Regions from separate parts of the Homo sapiens genome. Here regions 1 and 3 are each linked to region 2. The links are contacts of gene promoters, found by promoter capture Hi-C in human tissues and cell types (Jung and others, 2019). All regions are on one chromosome and are shown on one strand. Each heading gives the region's core, a stretch centred on a gene start or on the middle of the fragment in contact. The rest is flanking DNA. Distances are from core to core; before and after follow the strand shown. Region 1 overlaps PRKAB1-AS1 (PRKAB1, TMEM233 and CCDC60 antisense RNA 1). Region 2 holds the start of TMEM233 (transmembrane protein 233). Region 3 overlaps CCDC60 (coiled-coil domain containing 60).

The links. The method cuts DNA at HindIII sites, captures the fragments that hold promoters and counts their contacts. A contact is called where the count stands out against the background at its distance.
Region 1: a fragment that was not itself captured here is called in contact with the fragment with the promoter of TMEM233 in region 2 in 1 of the 25 tissues and cell types used here (spleen).
Region 3: a contact is called between a fragment that was not itself captured here and the fragment with the promoter of TMEM233 in region 2, in 2 of the 25 tissues and cell types used here (dorsolateral prefrontal cortex and spleen).

The regions. Positions count from the first base shown.
Region 1 is chr12:119,553,256-119,557,402 of GRCh38, reverse strand. PRKAB1-AS1 (PRKAB1, TMEM233 and CCDC60 antisense RNA 1) reads left to right here. Exons shown (of 3, transcript NR_188494.1): 2 at 3,758-3,855. Among named protein-coding and RNA genes, the nearest start is that of TMEM233, 38 kb to the left of the region's middle. The HindIII fragment of the contact is 3,709 bases long and covers 1-3,331 here.
Region 2 is chr12:119,591,076-119,595,051 of GRCh38, reverse strand. It overlaps TMEM233 (transmembrane protein 233), which reads right to left and starts at 1,278. Exons shown (of 3, transcript NM_001136534.3): 1 at 1,018-1,278. The coding sequence starts at 1,203. The region is part of intron 1 of PRKAB1-AS1 (PRKAB1, TMEM233 and CCDC60 antisense RNA 1); the gene reads left to right. RefSeq lists an enhancer at 717-1,290. The HindIII fragment of the contact is 2,865 bases long and covers 1-2,016 here.
Region 3 is chr12:119,536,167-119,540,155 of GRCh38, reverse strand. The region is part of intron 13 of CCDC60 (coiled-coil domain containing 60); the gene reads right to left. All of the region lies in intron 2 of PRKAB1-AS1 (PRKAB1, TMEM233 and CCDC60 antisense RNA 1), which reads left to right. Among named protein-coding and RNA genes, the nearest start is that of TMEM233, 56 kb to the left of the region's middle. The HindIII fragment of the contact is 4,608 bases long and covers 1-3,989 here.

The DNA of each region.
Region 1 (4,147 bases), core at 228-2,727, 38 kb after region 2:
TGTTGAAACCTTTCCTGTGAGCTCTGTGAATTCATTTAAGAAATATTCCGTCCCTGCAGTGGCATTTAGTGGCACATAGTAGACTCTCAATTGTGGATTTTAAATATATTATGCATTTTAAAGACACTAAAAATATAATAACTTCAAATACTTAAATCATGGTTACACTGTGTCAGACACTCTTTCAAGCATCTACATATACTAATACAGTGGTTCATGAACTCTCCTGCACATTAGAATCACGTGGGTAATTTAAAATAGTCCCTATGCTTAGGCCACACCCTACACCAATGAAATCAGGCTCCCCTAATTTGAGTTTTAAACACTCCCCAGGTGACTCACATATGTAGTCAACTGTGAGAATCAGGGAATGAACTCATTTAATCTTCATAACACCTTATAAAACAGGTGCTGCTACTACTCATGTTGCATAAGTGAGGAAACTCAGGCACAAGAGACAGATTAAGTAAGTGACTTGCCCAAGGTCACACAGCTGACAGATGTCAGAGCCAAGTGTTGAACCAGGCTGTATGGTCCCAGAATTCATGCCTTTAATCACCAAAACCTGTAACCAGAGGCCCGCATATTCTTTTTATTTGAAAAAATTTATCTTAAAAGTATTTGTTTACACACACACACACACACACCACATGTGTTTACGTTATACAGATTAATTGTATAATGAAAATCTGTGGCCCCGTCAACCAAAGAACTAGGGCATTGCCAATAAGGCATACACCTGATGCTCTTTCCCAGTCCAGGGCCCCAGGTCCCCTCCACAGAGGTCATTGTTATCCTGAGTTTGGGAGTGTATCACTGCTTTGCATATATAAAGTCATACCTACACAGCATGTGTTTTACTCTTGCTTATTCTTGTTTTATAAAAATGAGATCATGCTATTATATGTAGTCTTCTGGTTTTAATTTTTTTCCTACTATTTCCCAAATTTTTTTTTTTAATTTTTATTTTAGGTTCAGGGGTACATGTGCAGGTTTGTTGTACATTAATAGGTAAACTTGTGTCTCGGGGGTTTGTGGTACAGGTTATTTCATCACCCAGGTATTAAGTACCCAATAGTTATTTTTTCTGCTCCTCTCCCTCCTCCCACCCTCCATCCTCAGGTAGGCTCCAGTGTCTGTGGTTCTCTTCTTTGTGTCTACGAGTTCTCGTCATTCAGCTCCCACTTATCAGTGAGAACATGCAGTATTTGGTTTTCTGTTTCTGTGTTAGTTTGCCAAGGATAATGGGCCTCCAGCTCCATCTATGTTCCTGCAAAAGACATAATCTCATTCTTTTTTATGACTGCATAGTATGCTGTGGTGTATATGTACCACATTTTCTTTATCCAATCTGTCATTGAGAAGTTTGCGTATTCTTATTCTTATTCTCTGTCCCCATCCCACTGTCTGGTTCAAACTCCCATGCTCTCATAATGTCTCCTGGACATTTCGAAGTCTCCTCATTGGTCTTCTTTCTTGAGTCTCAGGCTCTCTAACTCAGCTCTGTCCAATGGAATTATAATGCAAGCCACATATGTAATTTTAAATTTTCCACTGGCCACATTAAACAAGTAAAAAGCAGGATAAATTAATTTTAATACCATATTTTATTTAACCCAATATATTCCAAATATCCTTTTGACACATAATCAATATTAAACAATATTAACGAGATAGTCTACATTCCTTTTTTCATACTCAGTGTTCAAAGTCCCGTGTGTATTTTATACTTATAGTTGTTGAAAAATCACAAAATCCATGCATTTAGATAAAGAGACTTTATTTTTTTAAAAAGGGTTACAGTCTACAAGGTGGCCATCCCACAGGCTGGGAACCATACTTCTGGCCAAAGTCATTAGCAGGCATTTTGAAGGAGGTGGGGTTGGTTTTTTTTTTTTTTTTTTTTTTTTTTTTGAGATGGAGTCTCGCTTTGTTGCCCAGGCTGAAGTGCAGTGGCGTGATCTCGGCTCACTGCAAGCTTCACCTCCCGGGTTCATGCCATTCTCCTGCCTCAGCCTCCCTAATAGCTGGGACTACAGGTGCCCGCCACCACGCCTGGCTAATTTTTGTATTTTTAGTAGAGACGGGGTTTCACCTTGTTGGCCAGGATAGCCTCGATCTCCTGACCTCATGATCTGCCCACCTTGGCCTCCCAAAGTGCTGGGATTACAGGCGTGAGCCACTGGGCCTGGCCAGGAGGAGGAGGGGTTGGACAGGAATTTTAGCTCACTGGGGTGGCCAAGTATGCGTATTCAACAGGTTACGAGAGGAGTTATGAATATTTATGAAGGTAGTTATGACACGTGTATTGAACAAATATGCATGTGACATGTGACATATCACCCCACCTTGGGGTGGGGCTTGATATTTAAATGTATTATAATTAGATCCTATATGTCAAAAGGTCTTTTTAGAACGAAGGCACTCATGTGCACAGCCTCTGTAAACTGGCCAGAATCAGTCCATGGTCAGTGGTCTTTTTTATTAGGAGAAAGTTATTGAAATCAATTTCTTGCCTAATCAAAGCTGTAGTTATGGCTGGTGGAAAGGGAACGGTGCGGGGGAGGATCAGTTAGTCAGTGTCTGGTGGTTGGTTCGTTGCAGTTGTTTTAACACTGCTTATCTCAAGGCCAGCACTTGTTTAGCTGCTAGAGAAAAAGAAAAACCTTGTGGCAGTTAGAATATAGTTTATTCTTTAAGTGAAGGAGTGTGTGACTTAACCCTTTCCTGGCATGGCCTTAGGCCCTGTTTATAACTTGGTATCTTATTACTACGAAGAGTTCATTTTGTCGGTCTTGTGATCTCTATTTTAACATTAACGCTGGTCAGTTGTCTGTAAACTACACAAAAGAGGGGGTATAACGAGGTGTGTTGGACCTCCGGTTCTTGTCATTGTCGTGAACTCAGTTTTTAAGGTTTTTCTGGGGGTCTCTTTGGCCAAGAGGGGGTCTGTTCTGTCAGTGGGGCAGGGGGCTTAAGATTTTATTTTTAGTTACATAGCACATCTCAATTTGGAATGGCCATGTGTCCAGTGGTCAGTAGCCACACGTGGCTAATGACCCTCATATTAGATGGTGCAGCTCTAACCCATTCTCCACCCTGCAGACAGACCAAACTTTCTAAAATGGAAATGTCACCAGTTTTCTCAACAATTTAGAACATATTCCTGGCTTCCTATTACTCTCAAGACAAATTCCTCAAGGTTCTTTGTGATTTATTTCCAACTCACCCTTTTAGGTTATTTTTCTGTAACTTCACATAGGGACCTTCCAGCCCTATCAAACTTCATTTTTCTCCCCGAATACGTAATTGTTTTTCAGGTCACTGTGACTTTGCACAGGCGGTTTTCTCCACCTGAAAGGTCGTTCCTGTTCTCTTGTTCTTTCCACTTCTTCACCTACAACACTCCTCTTCCCCCCAGATGCCTTCTCGTTTATTTAAAAAATCTTTGAGGATTCATCTGGGATGGATTAGTCCAACCCTCCTGTGCATTCATATGGAACCTTGAATACAGCTTTTATCATATTTGTCGGTAGCTGCCTATGTGCTCACATCTCTCACAAGGCCAAGTGCTTCACCAGAGCAAGGATCATGGCTTGTCTCCCTTTCTGCTCCCAGTACCTTTCTCTCTCAGTGCCTGTCAAATATTCGGCACATAATATTAGACCCCATTCCTTCCATTCATTCGTATTACTTGCCTGGTCTTGGTTGAAATGTAGATTTGGGACCCTCATAATCTAGCTCTCTGATTTTACAGATGGGGAAACTGAAGCCCTAGAGGAAAAGAAGACTAAATGTATTACCATCTGACCCACTTCCTGGCCAGCCTGTTCACCTGTCTGCTGTTCTTCATTGGTGAGTTTTCTGCAAAGGTAAAATGGCATTAAATTGAAGATGAGAGGAGGAGGCCAGTTGGCCTGCTTTATGCAATCAGTGGTTCATGAAATCATGCAGTGTAAACAAAATGTTTGTAAATGAGACCGCATTTCAGATGCCCTAGAGTTGCTAGACCTGTAATGCAATCCTCTTACAAGTGCTGGAATAATGAGAAAAGGGTGTTAAATTTATTGTCTTTGTAAATTTGTATCCCTTTCCTCCTCTATTGGAACTGCCTTACAAGTGAGATCCAGCTGCTGTTTTAGCAAAC
Region 2 (3,976 bases), core at 29-2,528:
AGCGGCCACTCCTAGAGAGGCGGGCAGCTCGGGAGGTCTGAGCGCAGAGGGCGGGCGGAGCCGCACGTTGCGTGGAATCCCCTAGTTCATTCCCGGGAGAGCCCCGGGCGCAGGACAGAGCGGTGGAGGGGCGCCTGGGAGCTCTGGGGGACACCAAGAGAAGAGAGGTTAGGGCCAGTGCGCAGCAAACGGGGAGGAACTACGACGCGCTGGGTAGAAAGAGTAAGAGAGGCGCACCCACTTTGCTGGTGAGGGGGGCACACGGGGAGCCTAAGAAAGGCCTAAAGAGGTAGTGGGTGTGAGCCAGCCTCGGGCGCGTTAAAAAGGGGGCGCCGGAGGGAGGCAAGGAGAGGAAGTTGGGTGTAGGAAGAAGCGAGAGGAAACTGTTGCCTGGACAGAGCGTGCCGTGCCAAAGCGCGGAAACGGGATCAAGGAGGGGGCATCAGGAATCGCCTGGGGACCCCCCGGAGAGTGGCGGAAGCGGTGCCCTTGGGCGCAGCAAAGAGAGAAGGGAGCACAGGCTGAGATAGAGACAGTCCTGGGCGCTGGAGAGCAGGAGCCCCCGGAGCGGCAGGGAAAGGAACGTAGAGCCTGCATGCTCGGGGTATGAGCTTACTGCGCTCGCTAGGGTGGCGCGCACTGGGGCTCTAGAAAAGAGGGTTGAGAAGCCCCGGGCAAGTGCCTAGGAAGGTCAGAGGAGTCAGCAAAGTCCACGGAAGAACTTCCCCGGGTTGGAGAGGAAACGCACCCTGGGAGCTGGAAAGAAGAGGAAAGCTAGCCTGGGGGAAGCTTGATCAGGGCTCTGAGTACCACGAGGAGTGCAGAGGAGGTGCTGATGATTGCGGGGAGAGCTCTGAGAGCCCGAGAAAGGTGAGGAGGAGGTGCGAGGACAAAGAACACCTAGCGCGGGCCGGGCCGTGAGGAAGGGAGCCGCAGAGAGCGCGCGGACTCCCCTGCAGGGGCTCAAAGCCGCCCGGGTCTCTCCTCCCAGGCTGCCTCTGGCCGTGATTCACTCACCATGATGGAAAAGACCAAAGCCACGATGTTGATGGGGTACGCAGGGCAAAAACACGAGACGATGGTGAGCCACAGGTAGTTCTTGGGCATGGGCACGTCCTCCTCGGTCTTGTCATCTTCAGTGTTGGCCTCGGGACTGCTGTCCAAAGCCCTCTTGAAGTCCGGGCTAGGGGCGTACTGAGACATGGGCGAGGCCGGCGGCGCCGGGAGGGCGGAGGAGCGCACGGTCTGTGTGGTCTGGGGCTCTGGCCGCCGGCTTGTGGCGAGGCTCTGAAAAGCCAGCGGCTCGGGGCTCAAGGGAGACGTGACCTCACCCCTTCTGCGTCCTCTGCCAGCACCCGCCCGGGCTCAGGGACCCTGGCCAAGAGCCTCCCCACAAGGAGGAAGGGAGGGAGAAAAGGAGTGAGGGGAGGCGGGGAGGACAGCGGGAGCGTCAGCCTGAGGAACAGGGAACAGGCAGATGAAGGCACCCCACTCCCTGAGATCGTCGGAGGGACGCACAGACTCACACTGAGAAGTCTGGAATAAAAGGAGGCTCAGGGAAGGAGGACGCAAAGGCCCATTAAGTTCCAAATTGGCCAGCCCGTGGGCTGAAGATGACCAGCTCATTTTTAAAAGCCACTTAATTCTAATACATTTAGATGGGACAGGACCAACCCTATCCAGTTGGCAACAGACTCACTACTTCCTCTTGACTTCAACGTTTTACCTTAACTGTCTGGTGCCTGGGCATTTGATTTGTCTCCTGTGCCTCAGACCTTGAACACTGAGCCCCAGGAATTTCTCCTCCCCCCGACCCCCTCCCCCAGGTGGGGTGGGAACCAGGTGCCCAGCTTTGGCCTCAAAGCTTTCCACATTCTACTTGGGGCTCAAGAGACTGGAGTCCAGTATAGTCAGTCAGTGGGCACTGCCCGGTCCATGCCCGTCCAGGTGCCCTCCCCAGTGTGGAAACAAGGAATTCTTCTTTCCACTTTTCCACCTGCAGGACCCCTGGGGAGAAATGCAGGTAGATCAGGCTGGCCTAGGCAACCTAGATGGATGAGTGGGCTGGGAAGAAGAACAAGGTATCCACTTTGGGGACTAGTGTGAGAAAAGCAATTGTATCAGTGTCTAAGCTATTCATGAGAGGGCCGTATGGACCAGAACTGAAGCTTGAATCCAGACAGAACTAGGAAATTGTCACTTCAGGAAAGCCCCTTCATCTTGCTAAGCCCCTATTTCTCCATCTGAAAAAGGGGAAATAATAGTCCCTGCCTCATAAAGTCGTAGTGACTCTTCTATGAGATGGTACATTATCCAGGTCAATCCATGTGCTCAATAAATATTAGCTATTATTAGCATACTATTTCTCCTTATATTCTGAAACATATAGTGCATTATACAGTATCCTAAACTTGATATCCCTTGCTAATATTTCACCAAAAATCCAGGTATTCTGAGCTGCAGGACCACAAAGAAATGAAAATAATTTGATCATGCAGTGTCAAAAGCAATTGCTCACATCATCATACTTGAAACTATTAATCATCTTCTTGGCTTTCTCAGAATATAAGCTGATTGCCTGGGAGATTCTCACTTATCTCATGAGCCATACTTATTTTGTTATCTGCCTCCCTCATTGGACTGCACACTCCCCGAGAGAAGGGGTCATCTGGCTCATCTTTGTGTCAGCATCTGGCACAGTTCCTGGTACAAGGGAGGTGCTTAGTATAGCTTGCTGGGTGAACACACAAAGATGAAATAGTACATTCTCCGCCATGCCTTCTTTCTCATTTTGATGGATTAATAAAATGGGAGTAACTAAAAGATTAGATTCATCTACTGAATTCTCAACCAAGTCTTTGCATTGGCTGTTCCCTCTGCCTCGGCTGTTTTTCCCTGGCTGTCACATGGCTCCTCCTTCTTTTTTTTTTTACTTTGAGTTGGAGTCTCACTCTGTCACCCAGGCTGGAGTGCAGTGGTGTGATCTCGGCTCACTGCAACCTCCACCTCCTGGGTTCAAGCAATTCTCTGCCTCAGCCTCCCGAGTAGCTGGGATTACAGGTGTCTGCCACCACGCCCAGCTAATTTTTGTATTTTTAGTAGACACAGGGTTTCACCATCTTGGCCAGGCTGGTCTTGAACTCCTGACCTCATGATCCACCCGCTTTGGCCTCCCAAAGTGCTGGGAGGCTCCTCCTTCTTATTCCTCAGGTGACAGGTCAAGTCACTTCCTCAAAGAGAGGTCTTCTTGTAGATTATCTAGTGTAGGTCTCCATCCTTATTTTATTCTTGCCAGTTTATTATTTTTTGTGTGTGTAGCGTGTCACAATTGTAATTTATTTCTTTACTTGTTCACTGTTTGTTCTATCTCTAGACTATAGCCTGTCCAACCTGTTCAGAACTATATTTCCAGCACTTAAGAATTGTCCTGGTGCATAGTAGGAATGCAAGAAATGTTTCTTGAATGAATTGACCAAAATTACCTGGATGTATTGAAAAAAATGATTTTCAGGTTTTGATCAAGACCTACTTGGATTAGAATTTCTCAGGTAGCACCCCAGAAATCTGTACTTTTTTTTTTTTTTTTTTTGAGATGGAGTCTCACTCTGTCACCCAGGCTGGAGTGCAGTGGTGCGATCTCGGCTCACTGCAAGCTCTGCCTCCCAGGTTCATGCCATTCTCCTGCCTCAGTCTCCCGAGTAGCTGGGACTACAGGCACCCACCACCACGCCTGGCTAATTTTTTTGTATTTTTAGTAGAGACGGGGTTTCACCGTGTTAGCCAGGATGGTCTCCATCACCTGCCCCTGTGATCTGCCTGCCTCGGCCTCCCAAAGTGCTGGGATTATAGGCATGAGCCATCACGCCTGGCCAGAAATCTGTACTTTTAATGCCTGAGAAAACTGTATTTTTAGAATACTCCCTGGTGATTCTGATGCAACTGAGCAATTTCTCAGATCCCAGTTCTGTCTCTAATT
Region 3 (3,989 bases), core at 871-3,370, 56 kb after region 2:
CTGTGATGTTGGGTGGCTAGCAAGACGGCTGAATAGGAACAGCTCCAGTCTGCAGCTCCCAGTGAGATCAACACAGAAGGTGGGTGATTTCTGCATTTCCAGCTGAGGTACCTGGCTCATCTCATTGGGACTGGTTAGACAGTGGGTGCAGCACAGAGGGCAAGCTGAAGCAGGGTGGGGTGTTGCCTCACCCAGGAAGCACAAGGGGTCAGATAATTCTCTCCCCTAGCCAAGGGAAGCTGTGAGGGACTGTGCTGTGAGGAACAGTGCATTCTGGCCCAGATACTACGCTTTTCCCATGGTCTCCACAACCCGCAGACCAGGAGATTCCCTTGGGTGCCTACACAACCAGGACCCTGGGTTTTAAGCACAAAACTGGGTGGCCATTTGGGCAGACACCAAGCTAGCTGCAGGAGTTTTTTTCTTATACCCCTGTGGCACCTGGAATGCCAGTGAGAGACAACTGCCACTCCCCTGGAAAGGGGGCTGAAGCCAGGGAGCCAAGTGGTCTAGCTCACTGGATCCCACTTCCACGGAGCCCAGCAAGCTAAGATCCACTGGCTTGAAATTCCTGCCGCCAGCACAGCAGTCTGAAGTCGACGTGGGTTGTTGGAGTTTGGTGGGGGGAGGGACGTCCGCCATTATGGAGGTTTGGGTAGGCAGTTTTCCCCTCACAGTGTAAACAAAGCCACCAGAAAGTTCAAACTGGGCAGAGCCCACAGCAAAGCCACTGTAGCCAAACTGCCTCTCTAGATTCCTCCTTTCTGGGCAGGGCATCTCTGAAAGAAAGGCAGCAGCCCCAGTCAGGGACTTATAGATAAAACTCCCATCTCCCTGGGACAGAGCACCTGGGAGAAGGGGCGGTTGTGGGTGCAGCTTCAGCAGACTTAAACATTCCTGCCTGCCGGCTCTGAAGAGAGCAGTGGATCTCCCAGCACAGCGCTCAAGCTCTGCTAAAGGACAGACTGCCTCAAGTGGGTCCCTGACCGCCATGTCTCCTGACTGGGAGACACCTCCCAGGAGGGGTTGACAGACACCTCATATGGGAGAGCTCTGGCTGGCATCAGGCTGGTGCCCCTCTGAGATGAAGCTTCCAGAGGAAGGAACAGGCAGCAATCTTTGCTGTTCTGCAGCCTCCACTGGTGATACCCAGGAAAACAGGGTCTGGAGTGGACCTCCAGCAAACTCCAGCAGACCTGAAGCAGAGGGGGCTGACTGTTAGAAGGAAAACTAACAAACAGAAAGGAATAGCATCAACATCAACAAAAAGCACATCCACACAAAAACCCCATGTGATGGTCACCAACATCAGAGACCAAAAGTAGATAAATCCATGAAGATGAGGAAAAACCAGCACAAAAAGGCTGAAAATTCCCAAAACCAGAACGCTTCTTCTCCTCCAAAGGATCACAGTTCCTCACCAGCAAGGGAACAAAACTGGGCAGAGAATGAGTTTGACAAATTGACAGAAGTAGGCTTCAGAAGATGGATGATAACAAACTCCTCTGAGCTAAAGGAGCATGTTCTAACCCAATGCAAGGAAGCCAAGAACCTCTAAAAAAGGTTAGAGGAATTGCTAACTAGAATAACCAGTTTAGGAGTCTGTTCCAAGATGGCCGAATAGGAACAGCTCCAGTCTGCAGCTCCCAGCATGATCGATGCAGAAGACAGGTGATTTCTGCATTTCCAACTGAGGTACCTGGTTCATCTCATTGGGACTGGTTGGAAAGTGGGTGCAGCCCATGGAGGGCAAGCCGAAACAGGGCAGGGTATCGCCTCACCCAGGAAGTGCAAGGGGTTGGGGGTTTTCCCTTTCCTAGCCAAGGGAAGCCGGGACAGACTGTACCTGGAAAATCAGGACACTTCTGCCCAAATACTGTGCTTTTCCAATGGTCTTAGGAAATGGCACACCAGGAAATTATATGCGCCTGGCTCGGCAGGTCCCATGCCCATGGAGCATTGCTCACTGCTAGTGCAGCAGTCTGAGATCAACCTGTGAGGCAGCAGCCTGGCAGGGGGAGGGGCATCCGCCATTGCTGAGGCTTGAGTAGGTAAACAAAGTGGCCGTGGAAGCTCGAACTGGGTGGAGTCCACCACAGCTCAGCAAGGCCTGTTGCCTCTGTAGATTCCACCTCTGGGGGCAGGGCATAGCTGAACAAAAGGCAGCAGATACTTCTGCAGACTTAAACGTCCCTGTCTGACAGCTCTGAAGAGAGTACTGGTTCTCCCAGCATGATGTTTGAGCTCTGAGAACAGACAGACTGCCTCCTCAAGTGGGTCCCTGACCCCCATGTAGCTTCACTGGGAGACACCTCCCAGTAGGGGCCAACTGACACCTCATACAGGCGGGCGCCCCTTTGGGACGAAGCTTCCAGAGGAAGGATCTAGCAGCAATATTTGCTGTTCTACAGCCTCCGCTGGTGATACCCAGGCAAACAGGGTCTGGAGTGGACCTCCAGCAAACTCCAACAGACCTGCAGCTGAGAGACCTGACTGTGAGACGGAAAACTAACAAACAGAAAGGAATAGCATCAACATCAACAAAAAGGACATCCACACCAAAACCCCATCTGTAGGTCACCACCAACAAAGACCAAAGGTAGATAAAACCACAAAGGTGGGGAGAAACCAGAGCAGAAAAGCTGAAAATTCTAAAAACTGGAGCACCTCTTCTCCTCCAAAGGATCGCAACTCCTTGCCAGCAATGGAACAAAGCGGGATGGAGAATGACTTTGACGAGCTGACAGAAGTAGGCTTCAGAAGGTCGGTAATAACAAACTTCTCCAAGCTAAAGGAGGATGTTTGAACCCATTGCAAGGAAGCTAAAAACCTTGAAAAAAGATTAGACGAATGGCGAACTAGAATAAACAGTGAAGAGAAGACCTTAAATGACCTGATGGAGCTGAAAACCAAGGCACAAGAACTACGTGAAGAATTCACAAGCTTCAGTAGCCGATTCAATCTAGTGGAAGAAAGGGTATCAGTGGTTGAAGATCAAATTAATGAAATAAAGTGAGAAGAGAAGTTTAGAGAAAAGAGTAAAAAGAAATGAACAAAGCCTCCAAGACATATGGGACTATGTGAAAAGACCAAAACTATGTTTGATTGGTGTACCTGAAAGTGATGGGGAGAATGGAACCAAGTTGGAAAATATTCTGCAGGATATTATCCAGGAGAACTTCCCCAACCGAGCAAGGCAGGCCAACATTCAAATTCACAAAATACAGAGAACACCACAAAGATACTCCTTGAGAAGAGCAAGCCCAAGACACATAATTGTCAGATTTACCAAGGTTGAAATGAAGGAAAAAATGTTAAGGGCAGTCAGAAAGTTCAGGTTACCCACAAAGGAAGCCCATCAGACTAACAGTGGATCTCTCAGCAGAAACTCTACAAGCCAGAAGAGAGTAAGGGCCAATATTCAGCATTCTTAAAGAAAAGGATTTTCAACCCAGAATTTCATATCCAGCCAAACTAAGCTTCATAAGTGAAGGAGAAATAAAATCCTTTACAGACAAGCAAATGGTGAGAGATTTTTGTCACCACCAGGCCTGCCTTACAACAGTGCCTGAAGGAAGCACTAAACATAAAAAGGAACAACCGGTACCAGCCACTGCAAAAACATGCCAAATTGTAAAGACCATCGATGCTAGGAAGAAACTGCATCAGCTAATGGGCAAAATAACCAGCTAACATCATAATGACGGGATCAAATTCACACATAGCAATATTAACCTTAAACGTAAATGGGCTAAATACCCCAATTAAAAGACACAGACTGGCAAATTGGATGAAGAGTCAAGATCCATCACTATGCTGTATTCAGTAGACCCATCTCACGTGCAGAGACACACATAGGCTCAAAATAAAGGGATGGAGGAAGATGTACCAAGCAAATGGAAAGCAAAAAATGGAGGGGTTGCAATTCTAGTCTCTGATAAAACAGACTTCAAATCAACAAAGATCAAAAGAGACAAAGAAGGCCATTA